Regions from separate parts of the Homo sapiens genome. Here regions 2 and 3 are each linked to region 1. Evidence: promoter capture Hi-C in 16 types of primary human blood cells and fetal thymus (Javierre and others, 2016). All regions are on one chromosome and are shown on one strand. Each heading gives the region's core, a stretch centred on a gene start or on the middle of the fragment in contact. The rest is flanking DNA. Distances are from core to core; before and after follow the strand shown. Region 1 holds the start of BGN (biglycan). Region 2 has its middle 28 kb from the start of PNMA3. Region 3 has its middle 9.2 kb from the start of PNMA5.

Region 1 (4,059 bases), core at 914-3,413:
GGAAGACATTTCCGACAAGCAGGGGTGTTGGGGGGTGAGCAAGGCAGGGGAGGGGCCCTGGCAGGTGGGGTGCCAGGGACCCCAGGGCTGGGGCTAGGCCTGTGGGTGGGGCGTGTGCTGGGGATTCTGTGGGCCGAGGACATGTGACTCCCGGGCAGGCTGGAGATGCTGGGGGGTGGGGGGTGGGGGGTGGGCCCGGGAAGCACAGGAGACGGCAGGTGGGGAGGTCCTCATCCCACCTCTATACGGGGTGGCAAGGACTCAGAAGCCCTTGCTGAAGGCTCTGAGTGCTAACTGTCAAGTGTGAACTCATTACAAACCCCTCCTCTGGGGACTTGGCGCTGTCACTGGAAGGGACACGCTATAGCTTTGTTTGAGTGACTCTGGAATGTTGCTAAAGACAGGAAACTCATTCTTGCCTTGGAAACACCCCCCTTCCTTTCCCAGACTCCCCATCTATGCGTTGGTAGGGTTAATGCCCACTGCCGTACGGGTCCTTGGGGCTTGAAGGTGGGCCAGGGAGGCCAGGGCTGCCACCCACAGCTGGCCAGCTTGCCATGGGAGCCCTCTCTGCTCCCTGGCTCGCAACCTGCTCCCACCGCCCAGCCCTGGTGGCTTGGAGGCAGCCCTGCATCTTCCTTTCAATATACCCACACGGGCTTGCCCTCAAAGGCTCACCATGCTGGCCCACAGTGGCCATACATGGGCATGCTCCGCACCAAGACATCCATGCTCATACACCAGCTCTCCTGGGGTGCGGCTGGCACCGGCGGCTGGGTGTCACCAGGAGGTGCTCACCCGCACCCCTGGGCGCTGGTCCCCGGGAGCCTTTCTGGCACGGGGGCAGGGGGGCTGAGCATCTCCAGCTTGTCTCAGTTCCAATTAGTTGCTATAGGGCAGAGAGCTGGCAGGCCAGGGAGGGGCGAGGGCCCAGAAACAGGACCCCCTGAGGATGGGACCTGAGCAGTCTGGCAGCCAGGACAGCAGGAGAGAGGCCTGCCCACCAAGACAGACCACTGGAGACTGATGTACCCTGTGCCCTGCAGATCCCTGGGCCCCCTGCTCTGCTCAGCAGGCGCTCAGGCACCCAGCCCCGCCCATGGAGCAGTGAGGGGGCGCTCCCCTCCGTGGGCCTTCCAGGGCACTCTCTCGCTCCCTCTCCTGGGTCCCTTGGCAGGCCCCTCTGGGACCCCAAGCCAGGTCCGCCCTGGGGAGCATGGCACAGTTGCCTGATTTTCTCTCCTTCCCCTCCACACCCATTCTGAGTCCCAGTCCAAGGGGGTCCTGGAAACAGACAGGGCTGAGCCACCCAGGCACCCCCAGTCAGGGCCCTTGCAGCCAGGGCTCCCAGGACCCAGACTTCTCACAGAGGATGTAGAGGCAGAGCATTAACCTGGGGGTGAGCGAGCGAGGAACATCTGGGCAGGGTGCCTGGGGTGTGCCTGGGAAACTAAGTCTTTCAGCCCATGCCAAGGACTGGCCTCAGGCAGTGCAGCGGAGGACTGCTCCTGGGTGCTGAGCTCGGTGGGCGCTGGGCGGTCCTCCCCGATCCGACCCAACCCGGGCCAGGCGCCAAGCCCTGGAGCAAGGAGGCGCCTGGGCAGAGCGAGGCTGAGGGAGTGGAGCATGCGCCTGGGACTTGCAATGATGAAACAGGGCCATTGGCAAAGCTGGGGTACCAGTCACCCAGCCACGCTCTAGGGTGGTAGCCAAGAAGACGGACCCCGAGCGGGAGGCAGAGAGACAAGAGGTGGATGAAGCAGAGCAAGGTCAGAAGGGAGAGGGAGAGGAAGGGGTGAGGGAAAGGTGCCTGGAGGGCGGCGAGACGAGGCAGAAGCCTGACAGGGACCAAGGGGGCCGCAGGGTGGCGATGAAGGGGCGTGGATCAGCAGCCTACAGAGAGCACCGGGGAAATCTGTGGACACCCTCGCGGCACTGGGGACAGCAGGACCAGGGCTTGGGACAGCGGAGGCAGCAGAGCCAGGGGCATCTCTGGGTTGCTGAGGAGGCAGCTTGAAGCCAGCCCTACCTGGAGAGGGGAGGCGCCAGGCGCAGGCTGACTAGTTGGCGGGCTGGGGTGGTGGGCCGTCCGCACGTCTATCTGTCCGGTGTGTCCGGCGGACCGAAAGCAGCTACTCACTCCTGGGCAGTTTGTGGAGAGAGGGAGACAGAGGCGGCGGGCGGGAGGCTAAAGGCTGGGCAGGCGGGCCGACGGGGAGGGGACAGCGGGGAGAGGGCGGGGAGGGAGGAAAGGAGGGAGGGGGCTGGTGGGGCGGAGAGGGCGGGCGAGCAGGAGGGGGCAGGCTTCCCGGCCCCCCTGGCAGCTTCAAAGGGAGCAATTTTCTTGTAGACGGCTGGACTAGCTGAGCCCCCGCCCCCTCGCCCCCACCACCTCCCCCCCCCTCCCCCGCCTGGGGCAGACAGCAAAGGAACGGACACACTCGCACTCACTCAAACAAGGACCCAGAGAGTCAAACTTTCCACTGCCCAGATGGGGACACTGAGGTGCTGGCTGGCATCTCGCCAGGCAGAGGAAAGAGAGATGGAAGAAAGACGAGGGGGAGGCGGCCTTGGGCTGCTAGGCCCATGAGTGGCCCCTGGAATTTGGTCCTGAGCCTGCCAGGAACCTGCTTGGGCCTAAGCAAGGAGGTGGTTTCTCCAGGATCAGAGAGGTAGCTGTTGTGGATTTCTGGAAGGACTTCATGTAGGCTCCTGGCGCCCTGTGCCCTCCCTTCCACTCCAGACTTTCTTCCCTTAAAAAGAGGGCCCGATCCGGCTGGTGGTGGCAGGACGGGGCAGGGGGCTCCCCAGCTTGCCTGCCCTGAACTGATTCAGAGACGAAGGATCCAGCGAGTCAGTCTTCTTGCTCAATCCCTGCAGGTCCCCTCGGACATGAGAACCACTCTGTGGGTGGCCACTTCCTCTGGGCTCAGCCCTGTGCTGGTCACTTACGGGGGCTAACCGGGTTACCCCACCAAGACTCAGCCGCTTCCTGAGGGCCCAAATGAGTCCAGTTCCTCCAGTGGCTAGAGCCCAGGTCCTTAGTACGACACTGCCCCCCTGTCCCGTAGTGTCCCCTTCTTCCCTCAGCAAGAGCAGCTCCTGAGACACAGGGGTAAGAGTTTAGATGGAGTGAGAAACAGATCTGCAATAGAACTGGGGGCCAAGAGTGCGGAAGACCAAAAGAGAAAATTGCATATTGAGAGAAAAAGCTCGAAGGGGCAGAGAGGGAGAGAGGGGTGGCTAGAGAGAGGCGGCATCCAATGGAGAGAGGACAACGTCGAGGGCTGAGGGTCTTCAACCCCTGGCAGTGCCATCACTCAACCGGGGGGTGGGGTCTGGGAGGTCCCAGGCCAGGGAGGATGCTCCCAGGGGAGCTCTACCTGGGGGCATGGCAGGGCACAGACCCCCTTCCTGTTCACCAGCGGCAGCCCAGGGCCTGGCTAGGACCTGGGACGCATGGCACCTTGACCAAACTGTGGTACCTGCCTGCAAGAAGCTTCTAGACTGGGCCAGGGAGAAGAGAGACGTGGGAAACCAGGGGCCAGGCTGGTAACCCTGGTTCTCTCTTGATTTCATGGTTGGAATGAGGAGATTGGAGACCACATATGCCCTTTCCAGACAAAGGAGATGGCTTGTCTTTCGGCAGGTTTGTGTGTTTTACCTTTTGCCCAGCCTCAGCGTCCGACTCTTGGCAGCCTGGTCTCATCTCTGTCCCACCCTCTTTCCCTCCCCCACTGCCAACTCATTCGTGGAGAAATATGTCGGTAGAGAGCGGGACAGGCAGCGAAGCCTGACTAGCAGTCTGGGTGGAGAGAGAAGCATTTGGAAACATTCCGCTCAGTGACAGCAGCCAGTCGCAAAAGGCCGCAGAGCCTCTGGTTCCATTCATTTGAAATGTCCACACTAGGCTCATCTGTGGGGACAGAAAGCGGATTTGTGGGCAGTGGGTGCTAGAGGGGTGGTACCTAAAGGTATGGGTTTTCTTTTTGAGGTGATGAAAATGTTCTACAATCGACTGAGTGATGGTTGCACAGTTCTGTGAATAGACCATATAAA
Region 2 (4,281 bases), core at 858-3,357, 470 kb after region 1:
GGTCGGGGGGCTCCTCAGCCTCCTGGCCTCCTGCCTGGACAAGACCCTCTGGCTCCTTCGAGGCCTGCAGGGGCATTTTCACCTTCCCTAATGGCAGGGGTGCTCCTGGCGGCCTCTTTGGTGGCAGGAGCAGTCTCAGCAGCATCTTCCACGCCAGGGTCAGCCTGGCTGGCGTCTTCCTGGGCTGAGGAGGCCTGAGCAGCATCTCCACAGGCAGGAGCTGCCTGGGCGGCAACTGGATCTTCACTTTCCACTGTGGCCACTGGCCAGGCCACAACATGCTGGCTCCTCACTGGGGAGGCCGCCCACGCCTCCATCTCCTGGATGAGCTGAAGCAGCCCCAGGAAGTAGGGCGGCCTCCTCTCCAGTGCATCCCCCTCAGGGTATTCTGGAGTGCTTCGCCAGGGCAGGCCTGAGGCTGCACCTACCGCAGTCACAGGTGGTTGGCCAGGGCCGGGCAGACGGCCCCCTTCTCCAGGGCCATCTGCAGCAGGCCTTCCAGGCATACCAGGAAGGCAAAGGGCCCCTGCGTTCAGGTCAGGAACTTCAGCCTGGAAGTCATTCGAGGGTCCCGGTTTCCAAACGCCTGCCCCAGCACCGCTGCCCAGCAGTCCAGCAGCGCCTGGCAGTCCAGTGCCGCCAAGTTGGGATCTTCCTCTAGGAGGCCGCTCACAACGTCCAGGGCTGGGCCACCCAAGCTCTCCAGCAGCCATCTCTTCCTCTCCCTTTCCGACGCATGGTACCACAGCTGCAGCATATCCTTGGCGTGCTCCATCCAGCTCTCAAAGGACTCTTCCTCGCAGCCTGGCTGCTCCCTCCCTGAAAAGGGTCTCAGTTCCTGGTAGGCCCTGTTTTCCAGCACAGCCTGCAGGGTGCAGCGCCGAGGCTGGACCCAGGCTCTTGTTACATTTGTCCCTCTTGCCTCACCCACAGCTCCTGCCTCACCCGCAGCTCCTGCCTCACCCACAGCTCCTGCCTCACCCACAGCTCCTGCCTCACCTGCAGGTCCTGTATCACCTGCGGCTCCCTCATCTGACTCTCTTGCCTCTTCTGCAACTCTCAACTCATCTCCAGCTCCTCCCTCACCTGCACCTTCTGCCTCACTTGCAGATCCTCCCTCACCTGTGGCTTCTGCCTCACCCTTACCCACAGCTCCTGTTTCACCTATGGCTCCTGCTGCACCTGCAGCTCCTCCATCACCTGCCTCTTCTTCCTCACCTGCAGCTCCTGCCTCACCTGCAGATCTTTCCTCATTCACACCTCCTGCCTCACCTACAGATCCTGCCTCACCTGCAGCTCCTGCCTCACCTGCACCTCTGGCCACTGCTTGCCCCTGGGGCTATGCAGGGAAACTGGGTATATCCTGAAACTCAGCATCAAGGGCCTGGGGCAGGGAGATCACTTTCCAGGGTCCCCCTTTGCCTGCTATTTGGCGGGGAATCAAGCTTTGGTTTAAACCCTCAGCGAATTCCACCAAGGCTGCCCTGGCCCCGAGCTCCTTTCTGAAGACCTTGATGAGCACTCGGTACCTGCCCAGGGGCGACAGGGCAGCCCGCACGGCCTCCTGGAACTCATGTTCCTCGCAGTCGTCAGGGATATCCAGGATGAGCAGAGAGCGCTCTGCGTTCACACCCATCCTCCTGCACCAGTCCCGAAGCATCGCCAGAGCCATCGCAGAGGACTTGAGGGAGGGAGCCTGATCAGACAGGAATGTGTGCTGACTGTTGCAGTCTCTGACGCAGCCTGTGAGTGCAAAGGGGAGAGAGGGACGTTGCTGCCAGTCAGCCCACCCCCACCGCACAGCCAGAGACCAGCCACTCCCAAATGCAGGGCCTGAAGCATCTCCCCTGCCCAGTGTCACAGCCCATGCTCCCCCACCCCTACTGCTGCAGCTCAGAGTCCTTCACTGCACCCCCCACCTCCACAGCAGGAAGCGCCTCTTTCACCTGGTGAACAGCCCCTGATCACAAAACTTACAGCTGGAGCCCCTCCAACCATCATGTGCAACCCTGCAGCTGGATGTGCCCACCTCCTCTTTTTCCCAGCACTTGACCAGGAGCCCTCTCCCTAATGCCATCCTCCCTGCAACCTGGCAACCCCCTCCCACGCCTCCCACATCAGCAGCCAGGAGTCCCCTTCCCCCACAGCCAGAGCCCCTCTCTCTCCCATCGTCCCCTTCTGTAGCCAGAGGTGCCCTGCAGCCAGGAGCTCACCCCACCCAGACTCCTGCAGCAAGGAGACCCTCCTCCCCTCTCCTCAGGCTCCAGACCAGGACCCGCTGTCGCACCTACTGCCTGGGGGGACAGCGATCTGGCTCCTGCCCAGTGTGCCCTCAGCCACTCTGGGGTCCCGCTGGTGCCTGCTCACTGTCTGCAGACACTGCAACCACCCACGGGGAAATGCCACCTTCAGGCTGTGGAGCCCACTCTGGAGGCCGCCTTGAGGCCCTGGAATGGGAAGGTGGAAGATCGCGCCCCAGCAGCCCATCTGGGACTGCACAGGGCAGGGATATCTCAGGCCAGCTGTACTAAGGGCACGTGGGCTTCCAACTTCTCCCAGAAGCCTCAGATAGATGAGGGAGAAAAATCTCAGAGTCTCTGTGGGAGGCAAATAGCTAAACAGGGGGAGGCATCCGTGTTGCCCTGGGATCGGGACCTGCGCGGTAAGGGCTTGATGTGCCTCCGGGGGCAACAGGCCCAACCATCAAAATGGCCTAGTGGAAGTGTTGAGAGAGAAAGGGGATTGGAAACTGGCAGAGAGGAAGCTTATGCTTAGGGGCAGCGTCTGGAAGCTGGGAGTTGGTGGACAGCCAGGTACTAGGACTCCAGACTAGGTCCCCCAAATCACTACATTCACAGGCCTACCTCCTCATTGCAGGAATCTCCACAACAGGAAGAGGCTAGCTGTTCCTGACTCAAGAGCCTCATCATAGTTCTTAGGCTACAAAGCCAGCCTTCACCACCTAGGAAGCCATTGCATTGGAAAGAGTGTGTACGGCCTTTGGAAGCAGGCAAAGCTGGCTTCACCTAGCAGCTGGGTGGCTTTGCACAAACCACTGAACATCTCTGTTTCTCATCTGTAAATGAGCAATAAGAACATTTTTCTTGCAGGGGAGTCATGGAGCTTTACCTTCTATTAGACACACGGTAAGCCTTCAGTAAATAACCACAAGGGCACAGGAATGAAAAAGGGTGGTGTGGCCAAGAATGGTGTGGGTATTGGAGGCTGGTTGTGGCAGCCAGCTCAGTGGTCCCAGGTCTGAGCTCTGAGAAAAAGCAGGATGTGAGTGGGAACATTGGAACCATTTTCCTGAGGAATGCAAGGATTGGCCAATGTGAAAATATGACTTTCTGTTTCTGCAGGCCTTGGTCAAGAGAGGCATTTGGGAAACTCAGCCAGTCTCTGCCATGTCTAGGACTGGCTACCCATCTGGCCAGCAGCTTTGGGAGTTTCCTGAGAGTGAACCCTTGATGCATCCTTGAGCACTGCTGCACAGGCACCACTGCCCTCACGTCACTTCCCCAGCCACCAATAGGAACAACAGGAAGAGTAAGAGAGTAAGGGTACGAGGGGCAGAAGCAGACCACATGTGACAAAGTGTAGGTGAGGGACTTGCCTGTGAACTCTTGTAGTAGATTTATATATATATACACACATATATACATATACATATACACACATATACACATATATATACACATATATATACACACATATATATACATATACATATACACACATATACACATATATATACACATATATATACACACATATATATACATATACATATACACACATATACACATATATATACACATATATATACACACACATATATATACGTATATAAAAATATATATATAAATCTCTCTCTATATATATATAGAGAGAGAGAGAGAGAGTAGAGAGAGAGAGGGAGAGAGGGAGGGAGAGAGAGAGAGAGAGATGGAGTCTTGCTCTGTCACCCAGGCTGGAGTGCAGTGGCGTGATTTCGGCTCACTGCAAGCTCCGCCTCCTGGGTTCAAGCGATTCTCCTGCCTCAGCCTCCCGAGTAGCTGGGACTACAGGTGCGTGCCACCACGCCTAGCTAATTTTTTGCATTTTTAGTAGAGACAGGTTTTCACCGTGTTAGTCAGGATGGTCTCGATCTCCTGACCTCGTGATTGGCCTGCCTTGACCTCCCAAAGTGTTGGGATTGATTTTTTAATGTCCCTGGTTCTCCATTTGTAATATGATTTCAAAACTCCTTCTATCACAAGTTAGAGTCAGTTTCCCTAC
Region 3 (4,027 bases), core at 136-2,635, 490 kb after region 1:
CTTAAGAGTGACAACCTAGGGTATCTGACAGAGAAAATTCTTACGCATCAAAGTGTTCAAGAGGTGGTCTAACTGCTTGTAACAGCCTATGCGCAGATGCAGGAACAAAGAAATAACTTAAAGTTGGGAATTATATTTATAGAAGAAGCAGAGCATAAAGTTTGGAAAATTTGCAGCCTAGCCATCTGGCAAAGAAAGAAAAAGCTTTTTCAGGGGAAGAATCCAAGAAGGCTGTGGTGTAACCACTTTCTAGAGATATTAGCCTGATTAAAAGCAAACAATGTCCTGATAGCCAAGACAATGGGGGAAAGACCTTGAAGGCATTTCGGAGATCTCTGAGGCAGCCCCTCCCATCACAGGCCAAAAGGCTTAGGAGGGAAGAATGGTTTCAAGGGTCAGGCCTGGGATGCCACTGCCCTGCTCAGCCTTGTGACACTGCTCCTTGCATCCCAGCTGCTCTGGCTCTAGCTCCAGCTCAAATGGGCCCAAGTACAGTTTGGGCCTCCACTCCAGAGGGCACAAGCCATAAGCCTTGGCAGTTTCAACATGGTGTTAAGCCTGCAGGTGTACAGAGTATAAGGGTGAAGAAGGCTTGACAGCCTCCGCTTAGATTTCAGAAGATGCATGGAAAAGCCTGGGTCTCCAGCCAGACACTTCCTGCAGGGGTGGAGCCCTCACAGAGAACCTCCACTAGGGCAGTGCAGGGGGAAAATGTAGGGTTTAAGCACCGCCCACAGAGTCTCCAATGGGGCACTGGGTAGTGGAGCTGTGGGAAGAGTTCACTGTCCTCCAAATGCCAGAATGGTAGATCCACTAGCAGCTTGCACTCTGCACCAGGAAAAGTTACAGGTACTCAATGCCAGCTTGTGAGAGCAGGCTCAGAAGCTGAGCCCTGCAAAGCCACAGGGTCAGAGCTGCCCAAGGCCCTGGGAGCCCATCCCCTGCAGAAGCATGCCCTGGATGTGAGACATGGAGTCAAAGGAGACTGTTTTGAAGTTTTAAGATTCAATGACTGCCCTGCTGAGTTTCAGACTTGGGTGGCGCCTGTAGCACCTTTCTTTTGGAATGAGAATGTTTACCCAGTGCTTGTATCTCCATTGTATCTTGGAAGTAAATAACCCATTTTGATTTTACAGGCTTCTAGGTGGAAAGAACTTATTTCCAGATAAGACTTTGGACTGGGGACTTGGGACTTTTGAGTTGTGCAACCGCCCAAGGGGTTCACCTTGCCTGCTGCCTAGACACAGCTTATTTATCAAGACAGGGGAATTGCAATGGAGAAAGTAATTCACACAGAGCCAGCTATGCAGGAGACTAAAGTTTTATTATTACTCAAATAAGTCTCCCCGACTATTCGGGGATCAGAGTTTTTAAAGATAATTTGGTGGGTAGGGGCTTGAGAAGTGGGAAGTGCTGATTGGTCAGGATGGACATGGAATCATGGAGAGTTGAAGTGAGTTTTTCTTGCTGTTTTCTATTCCTGGATGGGATGGAAGAACTGATTGAGCCAGATTACTGGTCTAGGTGGTGTCAGCTGATCCATCAAGCGCAGGGGCTGCAAAATACCTCAAGCACTGATCTTAGGTTTTACAGCATTGATGTTATCCTCAGGAGCAATTTGGGGAGGTTCAGACTCTAGTAGCCAGAGGCTACCTGTCCCCTAAAATGTAATTTCTAATCTTCTATCTAATTTGTTAGTCCTGCAAAGGCATACTTGTCCCCAGGCAAGAATGGGGTCTTTTTGGAAAATGTCTGTTATCAATTTTGTTTCAGAGTCAAACCATAAATTGAATTCCTTCCCAAAGTTAGTTTGGCCTATGCCCAGTAATGAACAAGGACAAAGGTTAGAAGCAATATGGGGTTGGTTAGGTCTGATTTCTTTCACTGTCATAATTTCTTCAGTTATAATTTTGCAAAGGCAGTTTCATTAATGCTGGAATGTGTTAAGACTTTGGAGGACTATTGGGATGAGATTATTGTATTTCACAGTATGAGAAGGACATGAGATTTGTGGGGGCAGGGGAGAATGACATAGTTTGGACATGCCCTCCAAATCTCATGTTGAGATACAATCCCCAATGTTGAAGGTTGGGCCTGATGGGAAAGGTTTGGATCATGGGGGTGGATCTCTCATGGCTTGGTGCTGTCCTCATGATAGTGAGTTCTCACAAGATCTGGTTGTTTAAAATTGTGTGGCACCCTCTCTCCTCCATCTCTCTCTTGCTCCTGCTTTTGCCATATGATGTGCCTGCTCCTGCTTTGCCTTCCATCATGAGTAAAAGCTCCCTGAGGCCTCCCCAGAAGCTGAGCAAATGCCAGCACTATGCTTCCTGTACAACCTGCAGAACACTGAGCCCATTAAAGCTCATTTCTTTATAAATACCTAGTCTCAGGTATTTCTTTATAGCAATGCAAGAATGGCCTTAACACAAGCAGTCTTAGCCCTTCCCAGCCTCCCATCAGCCCAAGCATCTGGGCTTATCTGCTTTAAGATGTTCTCCATAATATTGATGGTGTGTTTTTCTGCTCTGTGGTCATAAAGGGCATTTGGGAGTGCACAAGCTTGTTCTGGTGGCACCTCAATTTTCCCAAAGCAAAGGTTACTGTGGCAATTAACTTAGTTAACAAGTCCTGTCCCAGTGAAGGGATTGGGCATTCTGGCATGTACAAGAAACTATGCTTTAGTTTGACTGTGCCCACTTGGTAGTCCATAGGTTGTAAAAAGGACTTTTTCATAAGTGTTCCAGACACCCCATGATAGTCATAGTATTGGGTGACAATTTTGTTATTTTGATATTTAGGACTGTATTAGTCTGTTTTCATGCTGCTGATGAAGACATACCCAAGACTGGGCAATTTACAAAAGAAAGAGGTTTAATGGATTTACTATTGCACATGGCTGGGGAAGCCTCACAATCATGGCAGAAGGCAAAGAGGAGCAAGTCACGTCTTACATGGATGGCAGCAGGCAAAGAGATGGCAGCAGGCAAAGAGAGAGAGAGCTTGTGCAGGGAAAACCCCATGATTCAATTATTTCCCACCAGGTCCTTCCCACAACACATGGGAAATATGGGAGCTACAAGATGAGATTTAGGTGGGGACACAGAGCCAAACCATGTCAAGGAAGGAGTACGTGGCTCCAATATCAATCAAGAAATCAACTTGTCTTTTTCCCACCAAAGAGTTACCCAGGGTTCCAGGCAGGAGATGGGGATGCAGCCTCATCCACCTATTGTACCCCCTGAGACCCCATCACTCTCTTGGATACCTCTGACAAAAGTAAAGCCTTTTCTTCTTTCCCCTGGGATTGCCTTTTTAAACTCAGGAAGTCCTTTTCCAATGGTCCTCTTGTTTACAATATGCACAATGCTTGGGCCCCATCTATGGATCGCCTTTCTGGAGGCCTTTCTTGTTTCCAGGGGTGTCTACCTTCTCATTGGGCTTCTTTACTTCAAGTGCTGTGAACAGAGCAGCAACCAACAAAGATGCCTGTTTTTCCATCCTCTGTTGCTCTTTATGATCCAATGCTTGATCTCAGTTTTTGAACACCTTAAAAGCAATCTATACAGTTAAGAGATAGACATTCCAAAAACACTTTCTAATTTTTATAGCTTTTTCTGAATGCCAGGAGTGCTTTGACTAATAAAAGTTATGTTAATTAATCTGAGGTTCTCAGGGGCCTCAGGATCTATCTCAGTTGACATTGCCAGGAGGCTTCAAAAATTATCTCCAAAAACTTTCAGATGAGTTTTCATTTGGCCTCTGTCACATTTCCTGAAATTTATTAAAGCTACACTACTTTGAGACCCCTTTCCTCAGGACTGCTAAAATTCAATCTCTTTAATGCTTGCAATGAGCTTGACTCTCATGATTTGGATCCTATCAGGATCTTGCACATGCCAGAATGCCCAGTCCCTTCGTTGGGACAGGACGTGTTAACTAAGTTAATTGCCACAGTAACCTTTGCTCTGGGAAAATTGGACATTGAGGTGCCACCAGAACAAGCATGTGAGCTCCAAGATGCCCT

The links. Contacts are between HindIII fragments. The CHiCAGO score rates a contact against its expected background, and 5 or more counts as called.
Region 2: a fragment that was not itself captured here is called in contact with the fragment with the promoter of BGN in region 1 in 1 of 17 cell types (M0 macrophages); the score reaches 5.4 in M0 macrophages.
Region 3: a fragment that was not itself captured here is called in contact with the fragment with the promoter of BGN in region 1 in 2 of 17 cell types (M0 macrophages and total CD8 T cells); the score reaches 6.5 in M0 macrophages.

The regions. Positions count from the first base shown.
Region 1 is chrX:153,493,084-153,497,142 of GRCh38, reverse strand. It overlaps BGN (biglycan), which reads right to left and starts at 2,163. Exons shown (of 8, transcript NM_001711.6): 1 at 2,030-2,163. It also overlaps a transcript of HAUS7 not described here. The HindIII fragment of the contact is 11,109 bases long and covers 1-3,501 here.
Region 2 is chrX:153,026,176-153,030,456 of GRCh38, reverse strand. It overlaps the pseudogene LOC112268308. Among named protein-coding and RNA genes, the nearest start is that of PNMA3, 28 kb to the left of the region's middle. The HindIII fragment of the contact is 1,319 bases long and covers 1,448-2,766 here.
Region 3 is chrX:153,001,329-153,005,355 of GRCh38, reverse strand. No RefSeq gene overlaps it. Among named protein-coding and RNA genes, the nearest start is that of PNMA5, 9.2 kb to the right of the region's middle. The HindIII fragment of the contact is 2,358 bases long and covers 207-2,564 here.